Linked DNA regions of Homo sapiens: all the other regions are linked to region 3. The links are contacts of gene promoters, found by promoter capture Hi-C in blood cells and fetal thymus (Javierre and others, 2016). All regions are on one chromosome and are shown on one strand. Each heading gives the region's core, a stretch centred on a gene start or on the middle of the fragment in contact. The rest is flanking DNA. Distances are from core to core; before and after follow the strand shown.

Region 1 (2,700 bases), core at 84-2,583, 510 kb before region 3:
TCTTGTGAGTTGCAGTTCCGTCTTCAGTGTCTCATTCTAACATACAGGATTAGGAAATGTCTGAAAAGCAAATGCTGATTTTATATATGTGAGAAAGTTTCCCCCTGAAGTTTAGTTACATTCTTCTTGTGAGTAAAGCAAGGCCAGGGATGTAATATGATTGGCCCAGAGTTGAATGGTGAGTTTCTCCTGGTTACCAGGACTCACCATTTACCATTAAAGTTCTTCCTTTACTCTGCCACAAAACTTATGCTTGTTTTCACAGGTAACTTTGGAAACTAAGCTTTAACACATAGGAATAAACTTCTTCCTTCCTCTCTGGCCTTTTGTTCCTTTCTTTCTTCTCTGCCTTCCTCCCAGATATGGAAGAAGATACAGACTCTAAATGAAATAATATTTTCAAAAGTCCTTGTTCAGGACCTGACACAGAGTAAGTAATCAACATTCATTCCTTTTCCCATTCCCTGCCCTCAAGGGACTTAGTGTCTAGACAGGAAGAAAAACATTTTTTAAAATCTGTAATACAGAATATAAAGTTTCTAACAGATACATATATATATGTGTGTGTGTGTGTGTGTGTGTGTGTGTGTGTACACATATATAACACATATATAAAAATTGATTGACTCAAAGTATTATAGTATGTGGCATAAAGGAGGATCCCCTGTGATAATAACAGAATAATTCACAGAGAAAATGTTTGTGCTGGGTTTTGAAGGGAGTAGGGCTTGCCAGGACATCAAGGCAGAAAAGCAAGCCCAGGCAGAGGGGGGACAGGAACAGTCTGGCACTTCCAGAGAAGCGCAAGTGGGTTCGACTCAGGTGAAGCAGGAGGATAAGATCAGAAAGCATTTGGAAAGGTAAGTAGGGGGGCCAGATCCTGCCTCATATGGGAGAATTGGGGGCCACCAGGTATTGGTGGGGGGGAACTGCTGAGAGGTTATCAGTAAAGGAGTGGTGGAATCAGATTTGCATTTTACAGAGATCATTCTGGAACCATGTGGAGAAGATTCTGCTAAAGAGAGACAATTAGGAGACAACAGTAATAGCCTGAATGAAAAAATGGTGAGGACTCCACTAAGGCAGATGAACTTAGGGATAGAGAAGAAGGGGTTAATCTAAGAGAAGTCATAGAACTGAGTTGGAGAAAATGAGGAAGATGGAGAATTCTGGGCAAACTCTTGGTCTCAGGTTTGGATGATGAGGTGGACAGACAAAATGGACCTGGGAATGGGGGAAGAAGAACATGCGTGGAGGACTGGGAAATACTGAGTTCAGATTTGGACAAGCTGAGGTTGACAAGCCTGTGGGATATGCCCAGATCCCTGCTGGGGAAAGATCCAGTAGGCAGCTGCATGCCTTCAATTGTAAGAATTCAGCACTACAAGAGAGAAAAGATATCGGAGGCAGATCTTTTAAGAATTCCTCCAATTTTTTTGCAAGAAGAGATGGAGCCAGTTACAAGAGAAAAGATGTGTCAGGAAGAGCAGAGAGAGAGTTAAAAAGGACCAAACACAAGGACCAACACTTGACTCCAGACTACTAACTCCCTGTGTGACCCTGTCCCACAGCTGGAACAAGAAAGTACCAGAAGATGCAGGGATCTCCTGGGGCTGCCCTCCTTTGCTGAGAATAGAGATCTGTGCCCCAGGCAGCCAACCTAGTCTCCTCAGGGGACTGTGGTCTTATCCTACTAAATGCCCATAACCATAACCAGAGGGTCTGGAGGAAATGGCCAGGGAATGCTGCTCCTCTCCCACCACTGAGAATGCTCTTCTGTGCAGGCATTCCTCGAGATGCCTATGCTGGAGCTCTGGGAACCTCTTACTTAGCTGTGCACAACCATTGGGCCTCCCACATCTACTTTTCAGCAATCCTTCTGCACAGAGGAAAAGACCCTTCTAGTGCCCTTCTCTCCAGAGCACACAATAATTTCATGCCACATTCTGATATCTAGGGAGAGTGGTATGAAATATCTGGCTAGCACAGACCTAGCTGTCTGACAAAGGAGGCATTGCTTCCTCCAGGCATAACTGCCGATTTTGTGATTGCTTCCAAACCCAAACTCACCCAAATGGGTTAGGATCTGGCCCTGGATGTGGATGCCCACTCACTGCCCATCTGGAAACAAGAGAGACTTCTCCAAAAACCCAGTGGGTGAGGAACACAAGGCTACCAAAAGCAGCCCCTGCCAGCAGCCAGTTGGGTCTAGAGGCCATCCCCGTGGCTACCTCACCAGTCTTCTTTTCTTCAGGTTTACTGCAGTCACCATCTAGAATTTAAAAATACATATATGGAAAAAGTTTAGTTATATGGAAATTTGCGCTCTATATTTAGCAGACTTTTAGCAAGGAAGAAATGGTATTTGGCTTCAAGAAGCTTACTTCGGAAGAGGAGATGAGACATGCAACTACAATATGAAGCTAAACATGCTGACAGCTATTTAGTGGGAGACATAATTCCATGCAGGCCAGATAAGGAATGGTTTAAGGGAGAAAAGGCATTTTGGAATTCAACAGGTGAAAATGCAGAAAATTATTTGCTTCATGTGAAGCTAACGCATTGCAGAAAAAGTGTTTGTGTTTGTGAACAAATGTTGTACAAATTGAGTGGAACATTTCCAGTACACAAGCTGCTTCCTCCCAAAGAACAGGGCTCTCATCTAACCCTCTGTGGGTGCAGAGTAATATTAGTGCATTG
Region 2 (2,732 bases), core at 223-2,722, 570 kb after region 3:
TAAACACGGTTACTGTGAGTACCAAATTAGTTAATACATAACGTAAAACACTTTAAACAGTGCCTGACATCTAATAAATGCTATCTAAATATTATAATAGAAATTTATGGTTAAAATAGAAGAATTAACTAAGTTGAAGGACTGTACAATAAGCCATCAATATGTTTCTCAATCCCAGACAGACCCCAGAATGAATTTTTGCAATCTACCTGTCAGTATATATGCACATGTATCTTATTGGAAAACTCAGCAAAATCATAAGATTTAGGTCCTGGCCCTCAACTATTTTCCTTAACAAAATCTACTTTAGGGAGATGCTGTGAAGGTAAAAATTAGCATGTCCCAGGGAAAGCTCATTGCACACTACAAAGGACTATGACAATAACAGGCTTTAGATTTATTTTCTACATTGGCTCTAGCATTTTAGAAGGGTACTTTTACTACTCAAGCCACTTTCCTGCAACTCTCCCCCGAATTTCCCTCCTTCACAGTGGCCAACCTCAAAGCGTTTTCAATGTAAGTGCCTTTCCTGTTAGTGAGACTTCCCTATGAAAATAAATAGTTTAAAGGTTGTTGGAGCCTAAAACTCACTAAGCCTGGAGAGAGATGTGACTGTCATCTGAGTTACACGTGGTTACAACTTCTGTTTCTCAGATTATAGATTAACTTGCTTTCTTATTTTTCTTGTTCTATACAATGGCTAGAGAGAATTAAACGAAGTTAAGGACAAAAACTTCCTGCCTTCTTAATGATCCTTATAGATTAACTTCTGCTTTGTTGCCCCGGTTTGCTTAGACCAGATGACAGAAAATCCTTTATGAAAAATGTTAAATGTACACTTCCCAAAAAGAAACACTGTCTATAATCAAATTGTTGTAACTATTCTCTAACCTTGTATGAGAAAATGCTGTAATCCTGCTAAAAAACCTCTCAGTTTCTGCCTATATAAGTGAAATCTTAAATCTCTACTTCGGAACGCTGACTCCTTCCTTGGAGTCGGTGTTTCTAGGTAGGCTATCCTCAAACTTCGCGCTTTTGATTATTTTACATTGACACCTCCTGTCATCCGCAAGCTCAAAGGCAAGGCTAATAAAAGATGGCAGAGAGCCAATTAGGGACAGAGCCATGTAATCCTCATACCCAGGTGAGTTTAGGGCAGTCTTGCAGAAGCAGAAGCAAATTGTGGGGTCACGAAACCCTCCGGACCCGCCCGCCTCCACCACCACGCGCCCCTATGACCTTCGACCCCTCCCTAGCCCCAGAGCACGCCGGGAGTTGTAGTTCCCAAAGGCCTGTTCGGGCCAGCGCAGGCGCTTGGGGTTTCCCTCCCACCCAACCCCCGCACTTTACCGGATAAGGAAGCGGCCCGTGCTGCCACGCAGTCGCCGGAACGCGGGCGGGGGCTTCTGGGAGTTGTAGTCTGTTGGGGGCGTGCGCAGTCGGTAAGGAGACGTAGCTTTCCGTGGGGTGTACCACTGCAGTTGGTTCCCGGCGGGAGACGCAGGGTCAGTCTGTGACTCTTCCCCTACCACGCTCCCGCAGAGGCTGAGGAGGCGGTTTCGACTTCTCCTCCGGCTTTCTGTCTTCGGCACTGTGTGCTTCTTGCTCCGCGGTTTATTTCTGTACCTAGTCCTCCCTCCCCTCTTCGGTCCATCTCCAAAGCCCGGGCTTGGCGGGGACTCGCCCTCCGGTAAAGGCAGGGCCGCGACCTCCTAAAACCCGGTCGCCGCCCTGCAGGAACCTTCCTCACTCGGCCCCTCACACCGGGTTTCCGCACTGACCCTCCTTCGCCTCGGTCCTCGCTGCGCTCACCTCCTTCCACTCTTTTTTTTTTTTTTCTCCTTTGCAGGGATGGAAGCTTCCTGGCGCCAGGTGGCCGGTGGCCGAGGCCGATCCCGGGGACGGGCCACTGCCGCCCCCTCAGGAAATGGAGTCCATCTCCGCGGCGCCGGAGGAGGGCGAGAGAAGGGGTCGGTGGGCGCAGTTCCTTCTGGCACCAGTCCCGGAGGAGTCGCGACCACGGCGGCTGCAGGGAGCAGGCACAGCCCCGCAGGATCCCAAGCCCTGCAGACTACCGCAGCCAGCGGTGAGAATGGCTCCCGCCCGCGTGCTCACCTGGATGCCTCCTAAGGCAGTTACTAGTCAGGACCGCCTCCGCCCTCGCCTTCTTTCTTTCACTGCTTTTCCCCTCGTTCGGGAGTTTGTTATCGGGCCCACTTCTCCAGCCTTTCGGGTGGCTGCTCTTTTCGGCACTCTAGGTAGATTTCCATCGCACCTCTTTCATCTTAATTTTAGGTGGTATTACCTTTGTTACTTCCCTCCACTCTTGCCTACTTGAATCTCCAGACCATCAGTTGTAAATTGTGGCCCGGTGTTCTGATTTGGTCTATAATGTTGTTTGGTTAACACAGAGTTTTAAATGTGGATTGATTGTCAGCGGTTGTTTGTCGTTTTTAAAAATCTGGTTAACAACCTTGTGGCTTTAGTTATCTTTGTGCATGGCAACAGTCAGCTCGGCTGAGTCACAGAAATCCCATTTAGATTGGACTTGGGCATTCCATCTCACATTCTCTCTCATTTCTGGAGCCAGGTGTCATTTGTCATCTTTACCTTTGCCTTTGTTTCTTGACTTGTCTTATTCCTTGTAAGCACTTGAGCTTTTGATACCTTCCTTGACTGTAGTTCCTATTTACAAATTCCATGTCCTTCTGTGGACATATCTGGTGTTGCCT
Region 3 (2,700 bases), core at 72-2,571:
TCTGAGGGGAAGGAACGTTCTTCCTTGCAAGCCCCCTGCAAGGTAAGCCATGGTAAAGCTGCTGACTGCTACTTGTTGGTCGGACTCAACAATCCTGCACTCTATGTGAGATTACTTTCTCTGACGGGCCAGTAGCCCTATTTTACTTTTACGTTGCCGGCGAGTTCTAGTTCAGACTCCCCCTTCTCTTTGTCTTCCACTGGACAACGACCTGCGCTGCCACCCCGACGCTCGGGGAGGACGGCGAGGGACCCTGCTGAAGGGCCGCGCTGCGCATGGAATCCCAGCCTTGGAGCAGCTCCCTCGCCGTCTAGCTTGCTCCCCTAGCAGCACAACCTGCAGGTCGGCCTTGACTTCTAAAGCCGGGGCGTCATCAACTTCCTCTCCTTTTCTCCTCCTTCCTCCACGCCTAATTCCAACCCCTCCACTGCCTCTGTCCTTCGTCGTGAGCCCACGGCCGTAAACGCGCGTCTGGGATGAGACAGATGCCCAAGGAATAGACAGATCCGTACCTGAGGTTCATGTCGCCGTCAACCAGCAGGGACATAAGATTGGAGAGATTGCCGCCGGGACAGCAGCCACACAGGAGCACCGCCACGGCGGCCACCTCGTCCAGCTTGAAGGCGAGGGCCAGCAGGAAGGCCAGCAGCGGCAGGAGGCCGAACTGGCAGAGCGCTGCCAGCAGCGCGCCCACGGGCCGACGGACGTGCGCCCCGAAGTGGTTCACGTCCACCGTGCAGCCCAGGCCCAGCATGGTGATGCACAGGGCGGCGCCCACGAACACGTTCAGCCCGTGGTTCAGCGGCGTGTCCCAGAACGGGAGCGCGTGGGGCGCCCAGGGCCGAGGGAACGGGGAAGGGCCGTGGCTCGCCGCGCCGCCCGCGAGGCCGCTGGTCGTGGGCTCCGGGGTCGGAGTGGGGCCGGGGCTGAAGCCGAAGCTCGGACCCGGCCCGAGGCTGAGCCCAGGGCCGGGGCCGGCGCTGGAGGCAGGGGCGAGGGCGAGGTCCGTGCCGGGGCCCAGGCTGCTGGCATTGGGCGCCAGGGTGTAGTTGTCCCGCAGCAGAGGGGCGAAGAGCAGGGTCACGTTGTCGTTGCCGTCCATGGCGCGGCCGGAGCTGCGGATTCCGGTCCCCTCCCGCCGCGTGCCTCTCGCCGTCCCGCGGTCGCCGCAGTCGCCGCCCGTCGTTCTGCCCGTCGGTCTCCGAGCCCCGGCTGCGCGCCGCTGACGTGCTCGGCGGCGTCGGGGGCGGCGGGCCGGTCTCCGCTCCCAGGTCTGCAGCCGCCCGCAGCCTGGCACTCCGCGCAGCGCGGCCCCCCGGGTGAACCCAATCGCTGCGCCGGCTCCGCGCCGCGGCCCCGCGCCCCGCAGGCCCCGCCCCGCCCTGCCGCCCGGTCCCCTCCTGTGAATCGCCAGTAAGTGGTTCTGTTATCGAGTGTAGCCAGGGGCGGAACAAAGACCTGACAAAGGACCAGAGCAGGAAAAAACCGTTCCTGGCTGCCGATCAAGTTCTCTGATGGGCTCTGCCTCTTTATAATGAAATCTGGAGACCCAGACACACAAAGTGGAGGGGGCGGGTGGATAACCTCATCGATGCACGCTCATGGCAGAAACTGTTCCTATAGCCTGCAGCCCTAAGAGGGGTGCTTGACTTAATATGAGCGATTCTCTAGTAAGCAGGACACGATATCTGGCTTGAATTTGCAAACAATTTTTTGCATGATTTTCAGTCTTAAAGTAGAATGTAATAATAATATAGCGGGTTTTGTGCAAGTGCGTGTGCATTATTTCATTCGATTCTTACAGCAAAGCCGTGAGATAGATACCATTTTTACAAGCTCGATTTTTACAAACGAGGAAACTGAGGAACGAGGAATTCTCAGTCTTATCAACCGAACCCACAAGTACCTGGCTGAATCTGCACGGCGATGTGTCCCTAAAGAGGGCAGAGAAGAGCTTGGCTAATAACAATTTCCATGAAAAATGTGTGTTTAAGAAGTTATTGGCAGGTGGAGAGAGGATATTTCAGTGGCCACAGATTTACGAAGCTTTATGAGTAAGGCCCTGGCATTAGGATTAAAGGACTGAAAAGAAATAAAGTGCTGAGATTCCCTGCTTGAGACAGGTTTATCCCAAAACAATTCAAAAGCAGAGCTCTTAGGAATGGAGATGCAACAACTTTTAAGTCAGTCACTAGATGGCATGTAGAAAGGAAAATAATTTCGCTGCTTACCAACCAGGTGGGGCCTGTTAAGGAGGCATCTAGCTCCCTGGGGGTGACCATAAAGTGATAGTCAGTTGAGTTGTAAAAACCAACAGGAATTTCTAGAATGAAATCAAGGCTCAGTCTTAGCCCAGGGTTGCTTTCACAAGGAGCCAAGATATAGTGAATTCTTCTATCTGGGAACTTTTCCCTAACTCCTGTCCTGGCACAGAGTGACTTCTATTACCCAAGGGTGGGCTGAGCCTTTCCTCCTCCCCAAATCTCATGAAGATGATGGAGACTATGAAAAGTAAGACTTTGCAAATGCAAAGCATATTGCACTCTTCATCACAAATAATTTATTTTTTCTCTTTTGGACTGTAAATTCCACGAGGGCAGAGCTTTTGCAAGAATCTAGGAGGATAATGTACCCTTACACTTTTCCAAAACACTAAACCCAGAAAAAAAAACTTCAGTGAGCTAAACTTTAAAGGAAGTG

What was found. The method cuts DNA at HindIII sites, captures the fragments that hold promoters and counts their contacts. A CHiCAGO score of 5 or more calls a contact.
Region 1: a contact is called between a fragment that was not itself captured here and the fragment with the promoter of SLC10A4 in region 3, in 2 of 17 cell types (endothelial precursors and non-activated CD4 T cells). The highest score is 6.2, in endothelial precursors.
Region 2: a contact is called between the fragment with the promoter of NFXL1 here and the fragment with the promoter of SLC10A4 in region 3, in 4 of 17 cell types (erythroblasts, activated CD4 T cells, fetal thymus and 1 more). The highest score is 10.9, in erythroblasts.

The regions. Positions count from the first base shown.
Region 1 is chr4:48,994,191-48,996,890 of GRCh38, reverse strand. It overlaps CWH43 (cell wall biogenesis 43 C-terminal homolog), which reads right to left. Exons shown (of 16, transcript NM_025087.3): 5 at 2,071-2,272. Among named protein-coding and RNA genes, the nearest start is that of CWH43, 9.3 kb to the right of the region's middle. The HindIII fragment of the contact is 2,096 bases long and covers 286-2,381 here.
Region 2 is chr4:47,913,323-47,916,054 of GRCh38, reverse strand. It overlaps NFXL1 (nuclear transcription factor, X-box binding like 1), which reads left to right and starts at 1,472. Exons shown (of 23, transcript NM_001278624.2): 1 at 1,472-1,690; 2 at 1,850-2,086. The coding sequence starts at 1,852. It overlaps LOC101927157 (a long non-coding RNA gene), which reads right to left and starts at 1,828. Exons shown (of 3, transcript NR_125879.1): 1 at 1,351-1,828. RefSeq lists enhancers at 1,492-1,721, 1,232-1,917, 1,918-2,604. The HindIII fragment of the contact is 5,032 bases long and covers 1-1,860 here.
Region 3 is chr4:48,481,964-48,484,663 of GRCh38, reverse strand. It overlaps SLC10A4 (solute carrier family 10 member 4), which reads right to left and starts at 1,321. Exons shown (of 3, transcript NM_152679.4): 1 at 513-1,321. The coding sequence starts at 1,102. RefSeq lists silencers at 1,142-1,271, 1,352-1,401 and a cis regulatory region at 2,656-2,700. The HindIII fragment of the contact is 5,112 bases long and covers 1-2,048 here.